3 separate regions of the Homo sapiens genome follow, and all the other regions are linked to region 1. Evidence: promoter capture Hi-C in 16 types of primary human blood cells and fetal thymus (Javierre and others, 2016). All regions are on one chromosome and are shown on one strand. Each heading gives the region's core, a stretch centred on a gene start or on the middle of the fragment in contact. The rest is flanking DNA. Distances are from core to core; before and after follow the strand shown. Region 1 holds the start of PHB2 (prohibitin 2). Region 2 has its middle 23 kb from the start of APOBEC1. Region 3 holds the start of CD27 (CD27 molecule).

Region 1 (3,895 bases), core at 839-3,338:
AAACCACAGAATCCTAATGTATCAAGCACAAAGCCAAAAATAATTCTGGAGTAAGCAGGGCAGGATGGGAATGACTGACAGACACTATCCTAACAACTCTCTGTACACTGGAAAAGACATCAGAAGTTTGATGTTAAAGAAGTGGACTACATCTGTAGCAGCTAAAAGAAATAATTCCAAGTTGCAATTTGGAGTCCCAAGGAGCATTAGGGTGGTCAGTAAAAAGTCTAAAAACAAACTGTTATATACAAATACAAGTTTTGGAAGGTTAAGTTTTTATGTATCACTGGAATGTATATGTCTAGCAACATTCTTGAGATATATGGCTCCAAAAAGTCTGCGAAAAAAGGGATGTAGATTTTGAAATTGAATAGTTGAAGTAATGTCACAGAGAGCACAAAGAACAAATGACCAAGAACTAAGTCCATGAGACACCCTTAGTTATAGAAGAAAAAAACCTTCTTGAATGAATAATACAGTTTCAACCCATTAGTAGGATATAATCATGTTTTCTATTCTTTTAATAGATTACAGGCGCAGGCCTGTAATCCCAGCTACTCTGGAGGCTGAGGCAGGAGAATCGATTGAACCCGGGAGGCGGAGGCTGCAGTGAGCCAAGATCGTGCCACTGCACTCCAGCCTGGTAGAGACTGAGACTCCATCTCAAAAAAAAAAAAAAAAAAAAGTGTATTTAGAACGAAGATTAAAATCCTGGCCTGACTTCTAAACCAATGCGATTTCTTCTGGGCCTATTCAATTAGTTCTAACGGGTAAGAGAAAGGAGGAGGAAGAACACTGCCCAAGGCTTTAAGATAGAGAACTGCTGGTTCTATTACATGTGGGGAAAGAGATGAATGATAGATAAAAATGCAGATGTAAAAGTTTTAAATAATAACCAGGTCTGGACAGTGTATCATAGGTGGATATTAGAGAGAGGTGACTATGGATACTAATGAATTGAAACACGAAGCCCTTACAAAAAGTGTGGGCAGACTAGGCTACATAACTACGTTTCTCATCTGCCCAGTAACTTGTCTTGGGATGTGGAATGACGCAAGGAACGAAACTTTCCTCTGCTTAGACTACTATACCACAGAATCCTGGTAAACCAATTGGAAGCAAGGAGGTGAGGGCTAGAATATCATTCAAAAAGAGCAAAAGAAAATGAGTACTACCGGCCGGGCACAGTGGCTCACGCCTCTAATCCCAACACTTTGGGAGGCCGAGGCGGGCGGATCACTTGAGGTCAGGAGTTCGAGACCAGCGTGGCCAACATGGTGAAACCCCATCTGAACTAAAAATACAAAAAAATTAGCCGGGCGTGGTGGCACCTGCCTGTAGTCCCAGCTACTCCAGAGGCTGAGTCAGGAGAACTGTTTGAAGGCGGGAGGCAGAAGTTGCAGTGAGCCGAGGTCGCGCAACTGCACTCCAGCCTGGGCGACAGAGCGAGACTCCGTCTCAAAAAAAAAAAAAAAAAGAAAGAAAAATGAGTACTACCATCCCAGGATGTCAAATCAACGCAAAGCCAACCAAGCCACCTTCCTTCAAAAGCATCTTTCACCCCTCTCTGCTTTCTACATCCACTCTGGGCCCCTTACCCTCATTCCACGGAGTCCCAACCTATCGATTTACTACTTCTCCACTTCCTGTCCCAAACTACCTTGACTGTCTCCAGACTGGCCCCTTCCAGCACCACAATAAGCCTACGGCCTCCGATCTTGTTTCCTGCCCCTAGTCGGGGCCGCTTGGGTGGCAGAGCATCCCAGTCCTGTGCCTGCTCCCCACCGCTTCGTTCACGAGGCTTGAATCCATCACTGGGCGCGGCCATCTTGCAACAATACCGGAAGTTGCGCTAACGCTCTTAAATAAGAACAGCGCGGCTTCTAATCACAAATTTCCTTCCGGCTGCCATTTTGAAAGTGGGCCAGGAAATGGAGATGACTTGCTGTCTTGCGCTGCCCTCCCTGGGAGGGCAGCCTTCCAGAAAGGGGCGGGACTTCCGTATGCGCGATTCCTGTGCGCGAAGTTCGGGTCCGTAGTGGGCTAAGGGGGAGGGTTTCAAAGGGAGCGCACTTCCGCTGCCCTTTCTTTCGCCAGCCTTACGGGCCCGAACCCTCGTGTGAAGGGTGCAGTACCTAAGCCGGAGCGGGGTAGAGGCGGGCCGGCACCCCCTTCTGACCTCCAGTGCCGCCGGCCTCAAGATCAGACATGGCCCAGAACTTGAAGGACTTGGCGGGACGGCTGCCCGCCGGGCCCCGGGGCATGGGCACGGCCCTGAAGCTGTTGCTGGGGGCCGGCGCCGTGGCCTACGGTGTGCGCGAATCTGTGTTCACCGGTGAGCAACCTCCGCCTGCTCGCCGGACGCTTCCAGTCCCTCCCCCAAACCCCTTGCCCTGTCCCCGCGCCCCTCCACGGGCCTAGCATTTCCTCTGAGCAGCGGCCTGGCCTGATCACCACCCATCTCCCCACAGTGGAAGGCGGGCACAGAGCCATCTTCTTCAATCGGATCGGTGGAGTGCAGCAGGACACTATCCTGGCCGAGGGCCTTCACTTCAGGTAATGGCGGGCAGAGCCTGCTGACCCTGACCTTTCACCCTTGACGCCGACCCAGCAGTGGCTATAGTCGGACGTGCAACAGGATTCAACGCTGCTCTTTTCCCACCCTCCTCATCCCTGCCCCTAGGATAGTGGGTGCTGCGAGAACCTCCAGCAGCATACAAACTGTTGTTTTCCAGAGGGACAAGAGAATCTCTCCTTGTCTGTGGTCGTGGAGAGGAGCAGGCCAAAAAACGCGTGGTGAGGGGAAACCGGGCAAGGCTAGTGAAACTGCGGCCTTTTCTTTTTTTTTTTTTGGAGAGGGAGTCTTGCTCTGTCGCCCAGGCTGGAGTGCAGTGGCGCGATCTCGGCTCACTGCAACCTCCGCCTCCTGATTTCAAGCGATTCTCCTGCCTCAGCCTCACGAGTAGCTGGGATTACAGGCGCCCGCCACCACGCCCGGCTAATTTTTGTATTTTAGTAGAGACGGGGTTTCACTATGTAGATCAAGCTGGTCTCGAACTCCTGACCTCAAATGATCCGCCCGCCTCGGCCTCCCAAAGTGCTGGGATTACAGGCGTGAGCCACCGCGCCCGGCCGAAACTGTGGCCTCTTAATACCTATCCCTGTCCTCTCCAGGATCCCTTGGTTCCAGTACCCCATTATCTATGACATTCGGGCCAGACCTCGAAAAATCTCCTCCCCTACAGGCTCCAAAGGTAGGTCTGAGCACTTGGTAATCACATGGCAGGTGGGATGATCAAGGTAGCTGGCAAGAAACCCCAGGGGAATATGGTAGTGTCAGGCCTTTAGGCCTCTTTCCACATCTGCAAGAGCTGTAACAAAAATACCTGCCTCCTGGGGTCAAAGCAGCAAATTCTGAACACACTGTGTTTGCGTGCTTTTTACTGTCTCCTCCCTGACGTGTATTCAATAAGAGTATTGTTTGTCCCTCGTCTTGTTCACTGCCTAGATCAAAGCTTTGTTTTAAAGCCTTTTTTTTCTAACTGCTTGACTTACTATATCTACAGTTACATCCACTAGTACACTCTGTTCTGGAGAAGTTTGTCCCTAAGCTTGACTAGTTCACCTGTTCTCTCCTTCTAGACCATACATAAAAGCCGTGCCTTTGAGTTCCCCAGACCTCTTCCTCCTCCCCACCCACGCACACATATACACCCTGGGTCAGGTAGCTCACCTGTAACCTGTAATGTACTTCTTTGTGCTATACCTAGTGCAGGTCGCTTATTCATTTACTAGACTGGGCCCTGGGAATAAAAGATTCATTAAACACAATTCTTGTCCCCCAAGTCCTTACAGGAGACATGATTACGGTACAGCACGAAAGCGCCCACGTTAG
Region 2 (3,895 bases), core at 383-2,882, 670 kb before region 1:
CCTTTGGGGATCTACAAAGTTACAAATGCAATCCCATGTATAATTAAATCTCGCTGCAAATATGCCTTAAAAGGAATTTTAATATTTGGTGGCAGATTTTGAGAGGAAAGGCAGAAATAATAAAAAGTACCCGATGAGGTAGGAGTAGCCCTCACTCAGTTACTTATCTTTTATGATTTTCAGTTTAAGATCTTCTATTTCTCCACATTGATATTCAGGACGTGCCTCTGGGCTGTCAGAGGTTGATCCCTCAGCTGTTCAGGCTTTGACTTGAATGTGGAAGTCAGGAGTTGATTCCTGTAACTTTTACTGCCAATGGTGTTGAAAGAAGAACAGTGTAGGGCCTTTCCCAGCTTGGCTTAGGGAAGGAGACAGAGATGAGGGTTTTCACTAACACCAAATTTCCTGGGTTAAATAAAGGTGGTTCTGTTTCCTGGGGTTGGACTTCTGTTAGTTGCGTTAATTCTTGTTGGAAGTGAGCTAGAGAGGTTACATGCTTAACCAATTTAGAGGTTTCCTGCCTGAAAACAATCTCTGAGCACACTGATAAGTTTTATCCTTTCCCAAGTGAAAAGCTTGGTGAAGGATTTTAAGGACATTGGCTGGAGGCTGGCAAATGGAGTTTGCCATCCTCTGACTGTAGCCTTTCTGAGGGCTGGGAACTACGTCCTCGAGAAGTGGCCTATTTTATTTCTGCAGGGAAATACTGAGGTTTAATTTTTCTTATGGAGCCTTCCTAGATTAGAAGGGGCTTAAGTGCCTTAACGGCTTGAGGCTTCCTTGCCTCTGACTTAACTGCCTGATCAGCTAACCTATTTCCTTTGGCTACCTCATTTGTTCCCTTTTGATGTTCCTTACAATGCATTCCTGCTATTTCTTGTGGAAGAAAAACTGAAGATAACCTGCTAATTTCCTGGTGATATTTTTATAGGGGATCTATTAATGGTAAGAAAATGTCTTTTCTTTCTTTCTTTCTTTTTGAGACGAAGTCTCGCTCCGTCGCCCAGGCTGGACTGCAGTGGCGCGATCTCGGCTCACTGCAACCTCCACCTCCCAGGTTCACGCCATTCTCGTGTCTCAGCCTCCCAGGTAGGTGGGACTACAGGCGCCTGCCACCACGCCTGGCTAATTTTTTGTATTTTTAGTAGAGACGGGGTTTCACCATGTTAGCCAGGATGGTCTTGATCCCCTGACCTCGTGATCCGCCCGTCTGGCCTCCCAAAGTGTTGGGATTACAGGCGTGAGCCACCGCCTGGCCGAAAATGTCTTTTCTTTCAAATGGCAGCATGAGCATGGAGAACCAAGAAAGCATACTTGGAGTTAGTATAAATGTTAGCTACCTTTCCCTTGCTTAATCCAAGTGTGCTTGTAAAAGCTGTTAGCTCAGCTAATTGAGCGCTTGTGCCTGGGGAGAGACGTTATTTAGAGTGACTACTGCTTATCCTGCCTTATGTACTTCTTGCTTTACTGGCGGTTTGTTGGCTAAGAGCTCCCCCTAGAGGACAGTAATCCTGCCACATTATGTGGGGTGTAAACAGTTAAATTATTTCCTAGGGTTAACTTGGAGGCTTTTCTGATTAGCGAGCTGTCATGATAATGGCTTGGAAGCACGTGTCAACTAAGGTTGAGAAAAATACTGGAGTAGAGTTTTTCCTGAGATGCCCCTTCTGGTTGTGCTATGGGAAGAGGGGAGGCCTGGATTAGAGAGGAGAAAAAAGAGAGACTGGCTGAGTGTTTAGAAAGAGGTCTACTTTCCTTCTTTTAATTTCCAGAATCACTCAGAGCTCCTGTGCTGTAATGGCAGTTTGAGCCGCTGGAGCTGGAGTTTGAGCCCCGGGATCCAGTTCTGCTGGATCATCAGTAAGACTGGTTCTGAACCCAGTGACCTCCACCTCTGGGGGCAGTTCCATCTCCTGTTGTCTCTGCCACAGGCTGGAGAGGGTTGAGGTGGCTTTGTCTTGCTGTATGGGCATTCTTTCTTAACATGCTCTGGCCTGCCACACTGATAGCAACTAGCAGATGCACCTCCGGGATCCTGGACTTTGCAAGCCTGCAAAGCTGCTGCTAGAGTCTCTGTCCTTCTGACCATTGTCTCTTTCTTTTGGGCCTCCTCCTGGTTCCTATTACAAAAGACCAAAGTGGCCACTTTCAGGAAGTTCTCTAAGGTGCTATCTGGTCCTATAGCTTGCTTGTGTAGTTTCCTTTTAATATTGGCAGCTGCCTGTCTAATAAACTTGTCCTTTAGGATGAGCTGTCCCTCGACTGAATCAGGGGATAAGGAGGGGTGTTCTGTTAGTGCCTCTCTCAGCCTTTCCATAAAGGCTACAAGATTCTCATCTGGCTGTTTATCATGGACAGTTTAGAGTAATTGAGAGGTTTGGCCCTGGTTTTCCGTAGGCCCTCTAATGCACACTTAAAAAAGAGCTTCCTTTTCATCTCCTGAGTTATTGGGGTCCCAATTAGGGTTGTCAAGGGAAACTGCTTTCCTCCCAATTGGGAATGGCATTTCTGCTATTTCTTCTCTTTCCTTATCTGCTTTCTTCCCTTTTGGTGTATTATAGGAGATATGTTGCTAATCTCTGAAATCAGAGCTGCCTGCTTTTCAGCTGCAGTGAGGGTCTGACTTAGGAGCAACATAACATCCTTCCATCTGAGGTGAAATACCTGAGTTAAATTTTGGAAAGCTTTTTTTTTGAGACGGAGTCTCACTCTATTGCTAGGCTGGAGTTCAGTGCCGTGATCTTGGCTCACTGCAACCTCCACATCCTGGGTGCAAGCGATTCTCCTGCCTCAGCCTCCCAAGTAGCTGAGATTACAGGCACATGCCACAACGCCCAACTAATTTTTGTATTTTTAGTAGAGACGGGGTTTCACCATGTTGACCAGGATGGTCTCAATCTCTTGACCTCGTGATCTGCCCGCCTCAGCCTCCCAAAGTGTTGGGATTACAGGCGTGAGCCACTGCGCCCAGCCTGGAAAGCTTTTATATACCTATCAGGGTTGTGAGAAAATTGGCTAAGTCTCCCTTTATTACAGGCCTAAGGGGCTGTAACGAGAAGGGAACTTGAAGGGGCCCCCAAAGAAGGGGGATCTTCAGATGGCTCCTCTGGAAGTTGCTTTTCTAATTTTGGGGAATTATTTTCAGTGAGCGTGCCTGATATGATTCCTAAAAGAGCTGGGTTGATCTTACACTGCTTGCAAAGTTTCAGTAAAAATACCATGCCCTTGTGCAAAATAAAATGAGTTGCTCTTCTCTTTAATGTCCTGAGGCTAAGAAAGTTTCAGTGTTTCAGAGTGCACGCCAGAGGGGCACAAACTGAAGATAATCTGTTACCCATCTAGAAAGAAAAGCAATAAAAGTGTCCTTTTAATCTACTTTGATTCCCTATGACCCCCGACGGAGAATAACACAGTGGAGTGTCCTGTTTTCCTTCCCTGGTTCCTGGGACCCTGTTAAATGTGCCACCCACGATTGTAAGCATGGTCCCCCAAGCCATGGGAGCGGATGAACTAAGTGATGGTGTGTCCGGAATGGGTGGGTTCTTGGTCTCACTGACTTCAAAAATGAAGCCGCAGACCCTCACGGTGAGTGTTACAGCTCTTAAGGTGGCGCGTCTGGAGTTTGTTCCTTTTGATGTGCAGGTGTGTTCAGTTTTTTCTTTCTGGTGGGTTCATGGTCTGGCGGGCTCAGGAGTAAAGCTGCAGACCTTTGCGGTCACTGTTACAGCTCTTAAGGCAGCGCGTCGGGAGTTGTTCGTTCCTCCCGGTAGGCTCGTGGTCTCGCAAGCTTTCGTGGTGAGTGCTGTAATTCACAAAAGTAGTATGGACCCCAAGAGCGAAAGAACAAAGCCCCACCAAGGCAGAGAGACACCCGAGCGGGTTACTACTACCAACT
Region 3 (3,895 bases), core at 453-2,952, 530 kb after region 1:
CAGGTGCACTACCATGACCAGCCAATTTTTTTAGAGACAAGGTCTCACTATGTTGCCCAGCTGGTCTCAAGCTCCTGGGCTCAAGTCTCTACAAAATATGCAAATACCCTTCTGCCTTGGCCTCCCAAGTGCTGGGATTATAGGCATGAGCCACCACATCTGGTGTTGGTTTTTGTTTTTGTTTTTACGGGACCAGGCACTACAGCTCACACCTGTAATCCTGGCACTTTCAGAGGCTGAGACTAGAAGATTGCTTGAGCCCAGGAGTTCAAGGCTGTGGGGAGCTATGATTGCACCACTGCACTCCAGCCTGGGTGACAGAGCTAGACCTTGTCTCTAAACTAAACAAAACAAAACCCAGTACCAAGAGACCCAGTGACACCAAACACGTTTTGCAAGTAGGTAGTTTAATAGTTACAGTTACCTGGTTCTAAAAAGTGTCTTGCTAGAGAACATTTGTTCAAAGGGGCCACTTTAAAGCCTGCTATTCTAGTGTATACTGGCCGTAGTTTCTGAAATTGTAGCGAAGATGGAGAAATAATAACAGCATTCATAAGCACAACTGCAGATATTATACTTCTTAGTTTAAAAAAAACCTTTTTTTTTGGAACTATAAAATAAAAACACAGGCTACATACATACTCATTTTCTCAAATTGGCTTTTGTGCAAAAAAAGGTTGTTACCTATTGGGTTGCTTTGTTATTTCCTTAGAAAGATGTATTCCAAATTCCCAATGGCCAACCTGCACATGTGCACTCTGGGAACACAGTCAGTTTATTGGTTGGGGGTTGCTTGCCCGAAATCTGGGGTCATAGAGCCACTTCTCTCATTTTATTGTCTTGATCCTATCCATAGACCCGTTCTCACCAATCCCTCAAATTCTATTTATCCCTTTCCTGGAATACTAGATGTCTGCCCACGTTAATTCATGCCCCACCTAGGGTGCCGCATTTCCCAGCATTGGCTCCACTTGCTGTGAGCCTTGAAGAAGGCCAAAGCTTTGGCCCCGTCATCCTCCTTGCACCCCCAAACCCGTCACCAGCCTTGCTCCCCCAGATGCTTGTCCATCGTCCCCACCTACACACCCTTGCCCACCTCACCAGAGTTACAGTGCCGACAGCTCTCACAGTGGGGCCGGGTGTGGTGGTCAGGAGAGAAGGAGACCCCCGGTATGCAAGGATCACACTGAGCAGCCTTTCTATGCTGGTCACAGTCCTTCACGAGGAATGTTCCTGGGAGGAGAGGGTAAGGGATCAAGGCCTGAGAAGGGCTGGTTCTCTGCCCTCTTCAAGGTGGTGCCTCCCCACAGCTGCAGGATTTCCCTCCTTGCTTGAGCTCAGTCTCACCCTGCGCCTATTTACTGTATTAACCCCAGTCCTCTCTCTTTCGCCACTCACCTGGCCCTTACCAAGGCCCCCTCTTACCTGGCTCACACATCTGGCAGCACAGCTTTCCCTGAGCCCAGTAGTGCCTCTCTGGGCAGCTCTTGGGGGCTGGAGTAGCTGAGAGCCCCACCAGGGTCCCCAGAACGCACAGCCACCAGGGATGTGGCCGTGCCATGGTCCCTGCCCAGGCGGCTCCTTTCTGTGCCCAGTTGCTGATGCTGGCCTCTGGAGTTAGCACCTCCAAGCTGGGCGCTGCTGTCTCTTCTTTGCACCCCCTGGGCAGTGGCTGCTTCAGGTGGCAAGCCAACCTTTGAAGGCAGAATCTCTATTGTGGCTGTTTTTTTTTTCTCTCTCATAGCAGCAACCTCCACCCCCTTCCCCTTCCGTGTGCTGGGGAGAGTATTAAAGAGCAAACTCTGTGAGACCTGCTGCTCTTCAAACATGCTTCCTCCAACACATGAGCCTTCCTTAGTTTCCGCCTCTCCTGCTCATGAAGCACGTAGCCCACTGACTCCTGCTTCTTTGACAAAAAGGTGATGGACACACAGTTGCTCACCCCTCCTATTCATGCACTTGTGCACAAAGGTGCCCACGTTACCCCCCCCCACCCACCCCCCCGTCCACAGTTTACAGACGAATTCGCAGGACTCCTGTCTCCCATACCTGCATCCCTCCTTTCACAGACAACAGTTGAAAGAAGGAAGGAGAACCAGAATTGAGCACAGGTCCACAAGCTCTTATCTGAAACTTTGGGGGTCAGATAAGTTTTGGAATTCAGAATTTTTCAGGTTTATACAGAAACCAGCACCACAAAACACCCTTGGGGAGTTGGGGTAGTCTCATAATCAAACGCAACATTTCTGCAGCAAAACTATTGAATATTTACACCAACTGGGAGGAAGCTTAAATAGCCTTGTCTCAATTGAGGTCTGGTTTGATGGCCAAACGAGTTTGCTACAGAATGCTCAGAATTGCAAGCAAGGGGTGTAGAGCTGCCTCTCTTCTGTCACACTCTGACCGATCACCTATGCTCTCCTTTAATCCTCATGTCAGTCTCTGATGTGGGTGCCACCTACTGCCCACATGGCCTTCCCTCTCAGACCCTTGCTCACTCCTCACTTTTGTGCCATCTTTATCCTCCCCTTTCCCACCTCTGGCTGTGTCAGTCACTGGTGTCCTGGATCGCCTGGAGCATCTTCTCTCCTAGCCTTGGGCACTTGGGATTAAAGGTAGCTTCCTACGGGGGTCATCTCTTTTTTATTTTCCCAGTTCTCCCAGCAAGACTGATTTCGGGATATTGGAAACAGCTAGACTTTTCCCTCTTTGAGTCATGGGGACACACACGGGTCAACAGCCTCCTCCACTCTTTCCTCAGCAACCGATATGTGGAGTGGCTTATTTCCCCAGGAAGTTTTTAATTTAGGGGCTTTGCCGTTGTTTCCACACTGTTCATAAATGTCACACTGCTGTGGTCACACCTGTCAGATCTGTTCTCTATCTCACTCTGTAGTTTCCTTTCTCCTCATTTTCTCCATTCTCTTGTCTTTTCCCAGCCCCCTCTGCAGCTCTTCATGGGGGTCCACTCAAGTCAGAAGCCACATTTGGGTGTGATTCAGAGAGCTGTTTATGCAAAACCAGCTTTGTCACCATCAGGCAAGGCACCTGAATTCCCACCGCAGAGAGTGTTGTGGCCGTGAGGACTTTTCTGTCACCAGCCATTTCCAGGTTGTGGTAAATGTGTTCACTGCAGGCATGGGGCAGTGGGGTGGCTAGCTGACTGCAGGCCCTGGGAGGGTGGATGAGACCCTCAGAAGAATCATGAGGAACTGGGGACCTTTAGGAAGAAACTTGTCGAACAGGGACTTGCAGTTCGCTGAGCCTAGCAACCTTGAACCGACTGGGAACTGCTCACTAGCCTAACGCTGCTGTCCTCTGGGCCAAAGCCCATCTCCTCTTTTCTACATATCACTTCTCCAGGGGGTCAGAGCAGGAGCAGGGTCTGCCTGGCTTTCCTGGAGGGCCTCGGCCAAGAGGAGGAAGGCCAGGTTTCTGGACGTTTTTCTTTCCTAGGCAAATAGAATGAGCTCATCTCCAGCACTCTTTGCATCCACTTCTGGTGAGCCTTCCCCATCCTAGGCTGGCTCCCTGGACGGGACCTTCCTTTTTTTTTTTTTTCCTCCCTCCATTTCACTCTGTCACCCAGGCTAGAGTGCAATGATGCAATCTCAGCTCACTGCAACCTCTGTCTCCCAGGCTCAAGCCATTCTCACGCCTCAGCCTCCTGAGTAACTGGGATGACAGGTGCGTGCCACCACGCTCAGCTAATTTTTGTATTTTTAGTAGAGATGGAGTTTTGCCACGTTGGTCAGGCTGGCCTCAAGTTGATCCGCCCACCTTGGCTGGGATTACAGGGGAGAGCCACCGCGCCCAGCTTATTTTTTGTATTTTTAGTAGAGATGGGGTTTTGTCATGTTGGCCAGGCTGGACCAGAACACCTAGCCTCAGGTGA

What was found. Contacts are between HindIII fragments. The CHiCAGO score rates a contact against its expected background, and 5 or more counts as called.
Region 2: a fragment that was not itself captured here is called in contact with the fragment with the promoter of PHB2 in region 1 in 4 of 17 cell types (fetal thymus, naive CD4 T cells, naive CD8 T cells and 1 more); the score reaches 7.5 in fetal thymus.
Region 3: a contact is called between the fragment with the promoter of CD27 here and the fragment with the promoter of PHB2 in region 1, in 4 of 17 cell types (non-activated CD4 T cells, activated CD4 T cells, naive CD4 T cells and 1 more). The highest score is 8.9, in non-activated CD4 T cells.

What each region holds. Positions count from the first base shown.
Region 1 is chr12:6,968,857-6,972,751 of GRCh38, reverse strand. It overlaps PHB2 (prohibitin 2), which reads left to right and starts at 2,088. Exons shown (of 10, transcript NM_001144831.2): 1 at 2,088-2,335; 2 at 2,472-2,556; 3 at 3,175-3,254. The coding sequence starts at 2,209. EMG1 (EMG1 N1-specific pseudouridine methyltransferase) reads right to left here and starts at 1,839. Exons shown (of 6, transcript NM_006331.8): 1 at 1,661-1,839. The coding sequence starts at 1,828. RefSeq lists enhancers at 1,532-1,651, 1,702-1,881, 1,972-2,041, 1,562-2,164. The HindIII fragment of the contact is 5,065 bases long and covers 1-3,517 here.
Region 2 is chr12:7,640,645-7,644,539 of GRCh38, reverse strand. No RefSeq gene overlaps it. Among named protein-coding and RNA genes, the nearest start is that of APOBEC1, 23 kb to the left of the region's middle. The HindIII fragment of the contact is 2,109 bases long and covers 578-2,686 here.
Region 3 is chr12:6,442,762-6,446,656 of GRCh38, reverse strand. CD27 (CD27 molecule) reads right to left here and starts at 1,702. Exons shown (of 6, transcript NM_001242.5): 1 at 1,426-1,702; 2 at 1,102-1,233. The coding sequence starts at 1,561. It overlaps CD27-AS1 (CD27 antisense RNA 1), which reads left to right. Exons shown (of 6, transcript NR_015382.2): 5 at 2,940-3,111. RefSeq lists enhancers at 422-541, 1,251-1,430, 1,461-1,520, 1,065-1,566, 2,471-2,520 and 1 more and silencers at 3,601-3,680, 3,781-3,895. The HindIII fragment of the contact is 1,289 bases long and covers 1,002-2,290 here.